2 separate regions of the Homo sapiens genome follow, and region 2 is linked to region 1. Evidence: promoter capture Hi-C in human tissues and cell types (Jung and others, 2019). All regions are on one chromosome and are shown on one strand. The core of a region is centred on a gene start or on the middle of the fragment in contact, and the rest is flanking DNA. Distances in the headings are between cores, read along the strand shown.

The links. The method cuts DNA at HindIII sites, captures the fragments that hold promoters and counts their contacts. A contact is called where the count stands out against the background at its distance.
Region 2: a fragment that was not itself captured here is called in contact with the fragment with the promoter of MRGPRF in region 1 in 1 of the 25 tissues and cell types used here (H1 embryonic stem cells).

Annotation. Positions count from the first base shown.
Region 1 is chr11:69,010,019-69,016,304 of GRCh38, reverse strand. It overlaps MRGPRF (MAS related GPR family member F), which reads left to right and starts at 3,059. Exons shown (of 3, transcript NM_145015.5): 1 at 3,059-3,222. It overlaps MRGPRF-AS1 (MRGPRF antisense RNA 1), which reads right to left and starts at 3,951. Exons shown (of 6, transcript NR_120541.1): 1 at 3,757-3,951; 2 at 2,401-2,514; 3 at 1,989-2,174; 4 at 1,714-1,864; 5 at 586-694. The HindIII fragment of the contact is 18,072 bases long and covers 1-6,286 here.
Region 2 is chr11:68,686,827-68,693,112 of GRCh38, reverse strand. It overlaps GAL (galanin and GMAP prepropeptide), which reads right to left. Exons shown (of 6, transcript NM_015973.5): 4 at 5,013-5,099; 5 at 4,187-4,264; 6 at 1,938-2,196. The coding sequence ends at 2,126. It overlaps LOC107984343 (a long non-coding RNA gene), which reads left to right and starts at 4,255. Exons shown (of 3, transcript XR_001748281.1): 1 at 4,255-4,321; 2 at 5,110-5,272. RefSeq lists an enhancer at 618-912. The HindIII fragment of the contact is 4,733 bases long and covers 1,044-5,776 here.

The DNA of each region.
Region 1 (6,286 bases), core at 1,810-4,309:
TTGCTGAGATTCCCAAGATGCACCTTCCAGCACAGAAAGGCCCAGCCTAGTGGAGGAGGGGAACAGAGCAGAAGGAGAGGGGTCCCTTTCACTATTAGGAAAGACAGCTAGGCCTTGGTTCAACCTTTTTTCTTTAGACAGAGTCTCGCTGTCTCACCCAGGCTGGGGTGCTGCAGTGGCGTGATCTCAGCTCACTGCAACCTCCACCTCCTGGGTTCAAGTGATTCTTATGTCTCAGCCTCCCAAGTAGCTGGGACTACAGGTGTGTGCCACCATGCCCAGCTAATTTTTTGTATTTTTAGTATAAATGGAGTTTCACGATGTTGGCCAGGCTGGTCTGGAACGCCTGAGCTCAGTCAATCCACCTGCCTCAGCCTCCCAAAGTGCTAGGATTACAGGCGTGAGCCACCACACCAGCCGAATGGCCCTGCACACCTTCTTCATCGCAGGTGCATTTTACTGTGTTTCCTTTGACCTGGTCTGCCTCTCTGTTGGACATCAGCTCCCGGAGAGCAGGGACCTTGCCTGTCCTATTCATCAGCACAGAGCACAGTGCCTGGCACCCTGCAGGTGCTCAGGAAATACCTGTAGTCTTTACTGAGGATGGTGCTGGCTGCAGAGGGGCCACGAGGGCTGGTCCACACCCACCCCCTCGTCCAGGGAGCAGCAGGGCAACCATAGGCCACAGAAGCACCTGGCAGGGAGACATCTCTGTCCAGAACCGACCTCCTTCCCCCAAGGATCCCCCCAACAGAGGAGGGTCCAGGCCTGCACCCTCAGGAGGGGACATGGGGAGAGGCGTAGGACCATGAGGCCCTTGGCAAGGGATGATTAAAAACAAAGTTCTACTGGGAGGGGCAGGGGAGGACTCCTGACGGCAAGTGGTGGCTGTTTAGAAAGTGAAGGCTGGACGAGCAGGGACCATGCCCCATTCTCAGCATCAGCCAGAGCCCTGAGCCTTGCAGGGAGGGCCTGGCACCAGCGGGACACCTGGAGCAGGGAGCGGCGTTGCTGAGGTGCATGAAGAGCTCTTTCTCCCGGCTCCTCCCGGCATCCAATCCCTCCTTGCTATAACCCTGTGGGTCATTATCTTTTCCCATCTGACAGCTGAGGAAACCAAGGTCCCCAGTGGGAAGGAAACTGTCCACGGTCACCCAAGCCTGGAGGCAGCACAGGAACTCCTTGCACTGGGCCTCTGGGCACCACCCCACACACACAGCCCACCACTCCCCCAGGGGGTGGGGAGAGACCCCCAGGGTGGCTGCTACAGACTGCATGTTTGTGGCCCCACCCCCTGCCCTGCTGCCCCACTGCCCTGAATTCATGTGTTGACATCTAATCTCCTGTGTGAGGTGGGGTGTTTGGGAGATGAGCAGGTTATGAGGGTGGGGCCTCATAATGGCATTAATGCCCGAGTAAAAGAGGCCCCATTGAGCTCCTTCGCCTGCCTGAAAGGGGTCACCACATGGGGACTCAGTGAGAGGCTGGGTCCTCACCAGACGCTGAATCTGTGGAGGCCTTGATCTTGGCCTTCCAGCCCCCGGAGCCATGGGAAACAAACGCCTGCTCCGATAAGCCCCTGGTCTGCGGTACTGCAACAGAGCAGCCGGACACACCAAGCCCACGGGAAGGGGACTCCACAAACTCAGGCCAGGACGACCTTCCCGTTTACAAGCGCCTCTCGCTTATTTTGAGAGAAACAGATTTCCATACCAAATAAGGCGGTGGACTTCAGAGCCTCTGCCCACTTCACACAATTCCTTTTAAGTGTCCAAACGCAATTACACTTGGAACTCGCCGGGATTCAGCCTCCCCCGGCCTCCCCATGTAAACAAGCGTTCCAGCTGGGCCCCAGCTGGCTGCCCTGGAGAGGAGGGGACGGGTCACCACCCTGCCTGCTGCCTCCAGCCTCTCTCTCAGCCTCAGGCATGGCCCGTGAGCCTCCAGGATCCCAGAGTCCCTCCTCACCCCATCCCTGAAAAACGGACCCCAGGAGGCCAGCTGAGCCGCGCAGGGAGCAGTGCGAGAGTCCCTCTTCCACGCTGAGGTTCGCACATGGCCAGGACAAGCAGGAGGCAGGCAGCTCCCAGCGCAGGTGCAGGGGCAGCTCCGCTTCTCATTTCCCTTCAAGATGCCCACAGAGGCACATCTCTCCCAGTCTGGGCACTACACTCCTGCAGGGAAAGTTCAGAATTCCCTCGGGCTTCCTGGACCCTGAGAAAGTTGGCCCAGGGTAGGAGGGGAGCCTTCTCATCACCCCCTCCTCCTGGCCACCCTGCTGGCTCCCGCACCCCCGACTCTGCACCCCCACCCCTACCAATGCTCAGTGCCCCAGGCATGAACGCGTTCCAGGACCCCCCCCCACCGCCCGCCTCCAGGGGCTCAATGGGGAAGGGGGACCTGACTCATCCTCCCGCTGAGCAGCGCAGGCACCAGGCACCACAGCCCGCCAATTTCCAGCTTGCTTGCCGAGCGCCGTGATTTTCCACTTGCGCCATCTGATTGCTATTAGGGCTGGGGAAAAGGGAATTCCTGGTTCCATAAGCCCCCAGGGGGCCCAGGCCGAGTCCGGGGTGGGAAGGGGGAGGGGTGCCGCTTGGGCGGTGCTGACCACCTCTGCCAGTTCTGCACTGCCCCTCCATGGAGCCCTCGCCCTGCTGCCCCCCACTGCTCTGTATCAGCCCCTGAGTAAATTAAAACAACGGGGTGGGGACTAGCCCCTCCTGGGCCAGCCTGCCCCGAAATGCCCACTGGGGGCAGACCAAAGACGCCAGGCAAGTGTACAGCCGGTGCTCCCTCTCCTGGGCAGCCCTGCCGAGCAGCAGAATGTGAGGGAGATGAACAGCTGGACTCGGGCTGCAGTGCTCGGGCCAACGTGACGTCACCAGGCGGAGAGATGAGTTCCCGGTGGGGCTCTGGGGGGGGCTCCTGAGCGGGGCATTCCTTCCTGAAGCCTCATCCCCGCTCAGCCCTGCTCAGCCCCTCCTCCTACTCCCCTCCCCCTCCCCCTCCTGCCGGGCCAGGAATTGGGTTTGGGGCGGGTTCTGCTTCCAAAGCCATCTCTTCCAGCAGGAGAGGGCTCTACTCTGAGCTCCTATTTTCCAAGGCTCCGGGCCGCGCTCGGCGCTGGCCTGCTGCCCCGGCGGGTCCGCCGGCCGGAGGCGGGAGTCACAGGAAGAGCCCTCCACAAAAGGAGGCCTCGGCGGATCAGGACAGCTGCAGGTAGCTCCAGGGGCCCAGGGTCCAGGGGAGGGTGTTCCAACAACCGGGGCTGCAGGGTGAGGGCCAGGCAGGGAAGGAAAATGACGCGGGCACTGTAGGGGCAGAGAGGTGGACGCTGTCGGGGCAGGCAGCTCCCAGAAATCCTAAGGCCCCAGGCAGGGAGCCCTGAGACCCCAGAGAGGCTGTCACTCACCGGAGAAGCTCCCCTGCCACTCCTGAGGCTCCAGGGTTCCAGGGCCATGGAGGAACTTTAAAAGTCCCCCTCCCGTGGCAGGACCTGACCCCTCTCAGCTGGCCTCACCCCCAGCCCCACCGTCCAGCTCCTGCTCTGTGCTGCTGGGGGTGAGGGCTCCCTCTCGGTCCCTCCCCCAGCCTCACTGGCCATTCAAGCATGCATTCTAGAGGGGCTGGAACGGAACACCCAGCAGGCAGTGTCCCACACACAGGGAGATGGCTCCCCCTGCTCTCAGCCCTGGGGTGCACATGGGGTGTCCGTGTGGGCAGCCACAGGATGTTGGGCAACTGCAGTCCCACCTTCTCCCAGGCCTGCGGCCTGATGAAGCTGTTGGCCTTGGATGGAGGCGGCTCCTGGAATGATCTGCAAGGTCTCAGTCCCCCCAGACAAGCCTCTTCAATCCAAGCTGTTAAGCAGGGGACTCCAGACCCGGAGTGAGGAAAACAGAGGCTCTGTGTCTGGGGGAGCGAGACAGGCCCCTCTGATGGCGGCACAAGCGGCTAAGGAGAGGGGCTGGGACAGCCCCAGCGGCGTCGGGGCTGGGTCATGGTGGGATGGAGTGAAGGGAGAGGAGGAGCTTCCTGCGGGCAAGGCTGCAGGAGGCTGACAGGTGGCCAGGCCACCCTTGGGCTTGCTCCGAGGGGAGGGTCAGGTGTGAGCTGTGCTGGCAGCTTTTTGGGTCAGCTTCAGTGGAAACTAGTTCTGTCATAGCAGCCCAGATCCCACCCAGAGGAACACACATACACATGTACTGACACGCACGCCCCATCCACGTGTCACACACATGTCCTTTAATATGGCCCATCTGGGGTCTGCTGGCTTCTAGATCTTTCTGTGCATGCGTGAAATCGCTTTTCAGGTTGTCCCTGGCAGGACAAGGACAAATGCACAGGGACACCCACATAATGGAGGGACGCAGATGGTAGAGAGGGGAGCTGGGGGCCCCCACTGCATGCCCACCTGCAGCGTAGGGGGGAGCCCAGCCCACTGCCTTTGGGGCACTAGTTGGTGTGGCTGGGGTCTAGCCTGGCCAGGGTGAATGGATGAGGCTCCTGTGAGTCAGGACATCTCTGGAAACAAGGCTGGGGGCCCAGACCTAGGGGTGGTGGGTGTCCAGAAGGGCCACCAAAAAGAGTAGGGGCAATGGAGAGAGCTTGGGGGGCTCTTACCAGGCGCCCGGAAGGATGAGGGCAGGTGATAGGTCTGGGGTTGCAGGGCAGGAAAGCTCAGACAGGCCCCAGAGCGTGGAGAAGTTACGGCCTGTCTGTGGCAACGGGACAATGGCCCAACTGGAGTCCAAGGAGGGAGACTTAAGATACAGGTCGCAGCACCAGCCATCTGCAAGCCCACTGCACACACATCACAATGCACTGGCTCACTCCGGCACACAAGGTGCCCCCACCCTGGGACACCCCGAAGACCCCAGGCTGAGTCAGCCGTAGGCCAGGCACAGGTGCTCACAAACGCCCTTTGAAGGCGCAGAGCGGCGCGGTCTGGCAGCGCGGGGCCGAGGGGAGCCAGGCCACTGGGTGGGAAGGGTCCTGGGAGCGGCCCCTGGGGCCACACTTGCGCCACCAGCTCCGGGAGGCCCAGGGTTAAAGAGGGGGCGGGCCACACGCGCAGACGGCCACCTCTTCTAGCCAATGGTGGGCGCGGAGGCCAGGAGTACGGCCCGCCCCCGGGCGGGAGGAGTGCGCGGCGGGCGGGGGCACGTGGCTGGCTGAGGCCGGGCGGACCCGCGCGGCGCAGAGGAAAGAATTTCCGGGGAGTTGAGCTGAGCAGGATGCCCAGCTCTCCCCTTGGGAGAGGAGGGGCCCGGCAGCCTGCGACCTGGGCTGTGCCCAGCAAGGCCCTTCTCCGCTCACAGCCTCAGTTTACCCCCCCAGTACAGCAGGGAATAATAATAGATGCTTCTCTGCGGGGAAGGGGCACAGGGCTTCACGGGGAGAAGCTTCCTCCAAGGGGTGAAGCTCAGGTTGGGGGACCGGGATCAATTCCAGAGGACCCAAGGCAGGCAGACCCATGAGGTCTGGCCGGCCAAGGTGGACCAGCCTCCAGCAGGGTCACCCCCTACCCCAGGCCTCCCATTGGCAGCCCTAGGGTGGGTGCAGCTTCCCCTCTCTATGCCAGCAGTCCCTCCCTACGGCAGCTGCTCGAAACACAAATCTGCAAGGCTGCAGGGCATGGTGTGGCTATGGGTGTGCCTTTGGGCAGGTGACCTCACCCTCTAAGCCCAGGAGCGCCCATCAAAGGGGCATGAGGATACCTGGCCCATAGCTGGTCATGAGGACCAAACCAGATGATGGGTGTAGGCGGGCTGGCAGGGTAAGTGGTGGTGACAGTGATGCTGATGACCGGGCTGTCCTGCCTCCCAGGCACATGTAGGGGAAAGGCCAGATGCCTTAGCATGTTACAAACCGCGGCTCAGCCAAAGCCCTCCTCCTCCAGCAGGTTCCCCCTGCCAGGAATGATCCCTCTTCCCCTGCTCCTCCTTCTGGGACCGATTGCTGGGAAACCCCTGTCCCCACACCAGGCAGGGCACAAAGGAAGTGCCCCAAAAATGTGTGTGGGGAAGTAAATGTATGTCTGCAAAAGCAGCCTGGCTCCAGAACTCTCACAAGAAAAGGGAAAGGAGAGGGCTTCTTTTCCAGTGAGCTGCGGTGGGGCTGACGCGGAGTCCACAGGCAGGAGGGGGCCGTGCCCCAGGGGTGACCTCCAGAATCTCACCAGGACAGTCCCACAATGCCCCTGCTGCTGAGGGTGTGGGGTGATTGCCTTTCCTCTAAGGTGATGGCTGAGAGCCACAGGCCTTGGGGGCCTAGGCACGGG
Region 2 (6,286 bases), core at 2,161-4,660, 320 kb after region 1:
GGCTGAGGCAGAGGTGGTGTCCATGGCCACTGGATCTGGGGGCAAAGGCTACAGGAAGACCAGACAGGACAGGCTGCACACCGTGGGGCTGGAGCCCAGTGGCCGAGGTGTGGTCCCCAGACACACCCACTCATCTGCCTCCTCCATGCCAGGAGCTCCCTAGGCCTTGGGAGGGACATGTGCACAGGCCTCCAGTGAGCAGCAGCAGCGGCAGGAAAGCTTGCTGGGGGCCCAGCTCCACCAGCTCCAGCCCACCCAGCCCTCTTGGCTCCAACACCCTGGGGAGGGGCCTAGCCACTGCCTCCTGACAAGGCCTCGGGGAGTTCTGGTGCCTGCCCAAGTTGGAGAACTAGAGATTTTAAAAAACATGGAAGAGTGTAATCCCAGCACTTTGGGAGGCCGAGGCGGGCTGATCATGAGATCAGGAGATCGAGACCATCCTGGTTAACGTGGTGAAACCCTGTCTTTACTAAAAATACAAAAGAAAATTAGCCGGGCATGGTGGCAGGCGCCTGTAGTCCCAGCTACTCGGGAGGCTGAGGCAGGAGAATGGCGTGAACCCAGGAGGTGGAGGTTGCAGTGAGCCGAGATCGCACCACTGCACTCCAGCCTGGGCAACAAAGTGAGACTCCATCTCAAAACAAAACAAAACAAAAAGTGGAAAAGGATAAATGCGGATGGTGAACAGGAAGTGAGAAGGTGGGCCCAGGTGTTTAGCCCACCAGGTGGATGACGTCACTACCTCCGGGCTGGGAGTGGTCTGAAGCGCCGGCGACCCAAGGCCACCAAGCGTGAGCGTGGAGCCTGCAGGAGAGGGAGGCAGCCAGGGTGGAGCTGGGGCACAGCTGACTGGTGGTGGAGGGGGGGGTCACCGAGCAGGGAGAGGGATGCCAGGGCTCTGTGCCCCTTGAAACAGGTCTTAGGCAGCAAACTGCCAATGGGGGGAAACTGGGAAACCACCTCCCACTCCCACCGCACAGCCAGCTCTGGTGAAACCAAAAAGGCCTGTGTACCACCTCCCACGTTGACAGAAATGTCCGGCTTTTCCCCCTCGCCTACCTTCTTTTTTTTTTTTTTTTTTTTTTTTTTGAGACGGAGTCTCGCTCTGTCGCCAAGGCTAGAGTGTGATCTTGGCTCACCGCAATCTCCATCTCCCAGGAGCAAATGATTCTCCAACCTCAGCCTCCCAAGTAGCTTGGATTACAAGCGTGCACCACCATGCCCGGCTGATTTTTGTATTTTTAGTAGAGATGGGGTTTCACTATGTTAGCCAAGCTGGTCACAAACTCCTGACCTCAAGTGATCCGCCCACCTCGGCCTCCCAAAGTGCTGGGATTACAGGCATGAGCCACCGCGACAGGTCGCCTGCCTTCTTTTCGAAACTTCTGGGATGATCTTTTTATCTCTGCTCAAAAGACTCAGTCTCTGTCACGTTAAGAGATATTCCCACAGGCCTTCCTTCACACAGCACCATCCCTGCACACACCTCCTGCCCTTGCCTTTCTACCTGCCCGCCCATCTCTCCTCTCCTGCCTTGCTCCTGGCCCTCCCACCTGGCCAACACGTCTGTTCTCAGCACTGACCACCTCCATGAGTACCACGCAACTCACCCATCTGTTTAAGGTTGTTGTAGTCTTTTTCATTCCCATCTCCCTAAAATATCAGCTCCACGAGGGCAGGGGTTTTGTCTGTTTTGTGTTTTTGTTCATCTCAGTAACAGACTTACCTTCATAATTACATTTGACTCAGCTTAATATGGAGATAAATTTATGTCCCCTGGACATGCAATAACAGGTGGTGTCTCAGATGCTCTTGACGGTAGAATTTGGGTTTAAAATTCATGTCTAATCCACGATTATGATCAAGCTTTATCTTTTAAAACCCATGGGTGGCGCTGGTGATGAGACAGAGGTGTGGAAGAAAAAGACAATTGCAAGTAATTGCTATTCTTTATTTTGCCACTCAAAATAATTACCAAAAAAAAAAAATCTTAAATGATAACAACACAACATCAAGGCAAAGAGAACAGGAATGGCTGACTCTGCATAAATTGGCCGAAGATTATCCATTATCTTAAGGTTTGACTTCAGGTTACAGCACACAGACAAACATGCCCAGGAGGCTCTCAGGACCGCTCGATGTCTTCTGAGGAGGCTGCGGCGGGGAGATCCAGGAGGCGGTCGAGGGCACCGGCCTCTGCAAAGGGAAGAGCCACATCTGAGCAGCAACTTCTTAATATGCACATGAGAGAATTACAACCACGACACATGCTACAGGAAGCGGCGTGTGGTCGTCCTCTGTAAAGATTCTTACCAGATTAAACCCAGAATCAGGGACAACACTCTGTATTCCTCACTTCGTAATGATTTAACTCCCACAGTTAGTAAGCATTTAAAACTGTCAGACTTTTAAATTCAGGCTTTAAAGAGGTATAATTCCTAGCTGAGTAATGAGAGCTGGTATATCCTAAGGAAAGAGTTTCCATGTTACAAAATTAAAAACAAATGAAAAACAAAAATCTAGCAGAGTCCCTCTGCCCCTTGTAGGAAAAGTCACCCCAGCTTTTCTCCCAGAGGCTCCACTGGGCTCCAACAGAGGGAACTTGGTGACTCGGTTTTGAGATTTCTAATGAACACCGCCTTTTCCAAGACCTTCTCTGGCAGTCTCCTTCCCCCGCTCCCCTCCCCTCACTCCTCTTCCCTCTCCCCATCGCCACCTAAAGTGCAGCCCGATAACACTGCAAATGAAAAACATCCTGATCCAAAATGAACCCAAGGATTAGCCTTGATTTTTCAAAACTGGACAAAACTGTGATGTGCAACTGAAGGTCTCCACTGGAGAGGCTAACGGTCCATCCCTCCTCCCCACCACCAGCTCCCTGTTAACTCTCAGAGCAGCAGGTGAAGGTCTTCTCCACTGGAGAGGCTAAGTGGTCCATCCCTCCTCCCCTCCACCACCTCCCCCTTAACTCTCAGAGCACCAGGTGAAGGTCTTCTCTGCTGGAGAGGCAAAGCGGTCTATCCCTCCTCCCCACCACTGCCTCCCCCTTAACTCTCAGAGCACCAGGTGAAGGTCTTCTCTGCTGGAGAGGCAAAGCGGTCCATCCCTCCTCCCCACCACCACCTCCCTGTTAACCCTCAGAGCACCGGGGCCGCTTTCCGGCTCCCTCCACTGCTGCAGTAGGACCTGTGTGGTTATCTGATCAAGGCCAGATGCCCATCGTAGAATGAATGCCAAGCGTAGTGTGCGGAGGTCTCCTCATCCCCAGTGTTTGCAGAAGACACTGGAAGCCAGGATCAGAGCCTTTCCAGTTAGATTTCAAGGCAGCCTGCCTGGCAGGAAGGCTGCATAGAGAAACACTGCAGTCTAAGATATGGGCTTCTATTAATTTCCCATGCTTAGAAAATATGGTTTAGGGCCAGGCACAGTGGCTCACGCCTGTAATCCCAGCACTTTGGGAGACTGAGGCAGACAGGTCACTTGAGGCCAGGAGTTCAAGATGAGCCTGGCCAACATGATGAACCCCAGCCTCTACTAAAAATACAAAAATTAGCCAGGCATAATTGTGCGCACCTGTTTTCCCAGCTACCTGGGAAGAAGAGGCACGAGAATCACTTGAGCCCAGGAGGCAGAGGCTGCAGTGAGCTGAGATTGCACCACTACATTCGAGCCTGGGCGACAGAGTGAGATGAAGGAAGGAAGGAAGAAAGAGAGAGAGAAAGAGGGAGGAAGAAAAAGGAAGGAAGGAAGAGAAAGAAGAAAGAAAGAAAAGAGAGAAGAGAAAGAAAAGACAGAGAAAAAAGAAAAGAGAAAAGGTTTAGGACGGTTCACAAAGAACTTGGCCTGTAGTATACCTCTGCCCTAAAAGGTACAGCAGTTGTCACCGTGTGAATAGATATGGTTCCAGTAGAATGAGCTGCACCCTGAGGCCCACTCTCTTCCTGGGACCAGCGCTGGCCCGATGGCCCTCCACGACGGTAGAATGCCCCTGCCGCAATCCCAGCCCTCTGGAGCTAGCTCTAGTGTTACATTCTCTGTTATCCCGACACACAGCCAAACAGGACTTTGTACGTAGATAAGTAATCGGCTACTTCCCAGGGGGATTCTATGGGTTCTCTTCTCGATGGGCCTTTTACGTTTCCAGTGTACTAAGAGATGAATGTTAAGTTGATGATATTTCACATACCTTTGAGATGCAAGAAAGACAGAAACTCAATGATTGTGCGCATGATATTGTTTTCAGGTATGGACCTGTCAAAGCTTCCTAGAAGAGAAAAGATCAACATTCACGACTTGTGCAGAGGGTGCTTCAGTGTCTCAGGTCATCCCCCTCCCTACAGAGGAGCTGGGCGCTGCAAGGTCAATGATCTGATCCCAGCAGCCTGAGGCCCTGCTGTGCTTTCCAAGGCCCTTGTTCAATGTGAGGGAGTTGGGGAGATATCCAGTTCGAGGCCTCGCTTTTCTTCTTCTTCTTCTTTTTAATTGAGATGGAGTCTCACTCTGTTGCCTAGGCTGGAATGCAGTGTCATGATCTTGGCTCACTGCAACCTCCGCCTCCCAGGTTCAAGTGATTCTCGAGCCTCTGCCTCCCAAGTAGCTGGGATGACAGGCACCCACCACCACGCCTGGCTAATTTTTATATTTTTGGTAGAGACAGGGTTTTGCCATGTTGGCCAGGCTGGTCTTGAACTCCAGACCTCAGGTGATCCACCCGCATCAGCCTCCCAGAGTGCTGGGATTACAGGCAGGAGCCATCGTGCCCAGTCCCGCTCTTCTGGAGGCCCTGGTGCCTGGGCAGCCTCCCAGCCTAGAAGGACCCCTTGCTGTCTCGGGTTTGCACGTTCTGTTTGCAGCTGCTGACAGGTGTGGCGAGGCCACATCGTCTTAGTCAAGTCATGGCCAGGCTTGGGCTGCAGCTGTGGACAGCCCCGACACCCACAGCTGTCCCCTGCATGCACCTGGGAGCTGGTGGAAGTGAGGTGCCCCGGGGCCCGGGATAGGAGTCCTCTCACCTGGTTTCATGTCATCTTCGGGCCGCAGCTCCCGCTTGCTGGTGAGGCCATTCTTGTCGCTGAATGACCTGTGGTTGCCAACGGCATCTGTTTGCAGATCAGAGAGGAAAGCCTCTGGGTGTGACTGTCATGCACGCCCTCCCCACACCCAAAGAAGGACACAGGGCTGCCTGTAGCCAACACACACACGCAACTCGACTGTGAAATAGAGCCCAGGGACAGACACCAGAGCAGAGGGAGCGATTCTCCACCCAGCTGAGGTAAGAGCTTGGCCGCTCACACCAGGGTCAAAGGGAATGTGAGGGTTTGCACAGGGTGGGTGGGAGAAAGGGAGGTGTGGCTCCTGAAGTGGGGGAGAGGCCCAGAACCTGCCCTGTTGCAGGGGTTGCGCCTGGGTCCAGAGGAGCTGGCATCTGAGCTGGCACTGAGCTGGCATCAAACTGGGTGACTCCCTGGCAGACAACAGGAGCTGGGTCCTCATGTCCCTGAAAGCATGGGGGACGCTGAAGAGTTTAAGTTGTGACTGAATCTGATTTTTATTTTCACTCTGGCAGCTGTGTGCAAGATGGACTGGAGCCAGAGAGAGAGAAGGAGAGAGACAGAGGGAGCGAGAGGGTCACAGAGGGAGACAGGATGGGGGTGGGGGGTGCAGGAGCGTGTGTGCGTTCCCGTGTGTGTGTGGGTGTGTTTCGTGGTGCGAAAATGGAGGAACTGTGATTGCAAGCACAGAGATCCCAGAATTCCAGGGAAGAAACGATGAAGGCTGTAAACCAAGAGGCGTGGGGTGAAGAGGAGGGCTGGATTTGGGGCTGTGCAGGAAAGGAAATGGAAATGAGAGATGGGGACGAGGGTGAGGACGCCTCTGTGTTTCCAGCTGGTTGGCCTGGGTGGACTGTGCCATCTACAAGGCCAGACAAAGGAGAATTAACGCGTATTTCCAGAGATGCCGTTCTTGGTGCTAAATTTATAGAGGAATCATAGGTCGCCTCATGTCACTGATGCACCCTCAGCCACGGCCACACTGCGTTCAGCAGCAGCTGGTGCAAAAACATTGCTTTTGCTGCATTTCTAGCAGATCCTAGAAATCAAAGGCACATTTTTAAGTATTTTGACAAACAACTCGTCTAGCTACAGCTGAACAGGGCCGTAAAATTGATGGCGAAAATGAGTTTGTTTTCTAATTAGGGGTCAAACTCTTCTTGACAAATAGATTTTCAATATTCCAAAGCAACACAGATAAATGTTCTCATTGACCAGTTCTGCCTTTGTTTTGG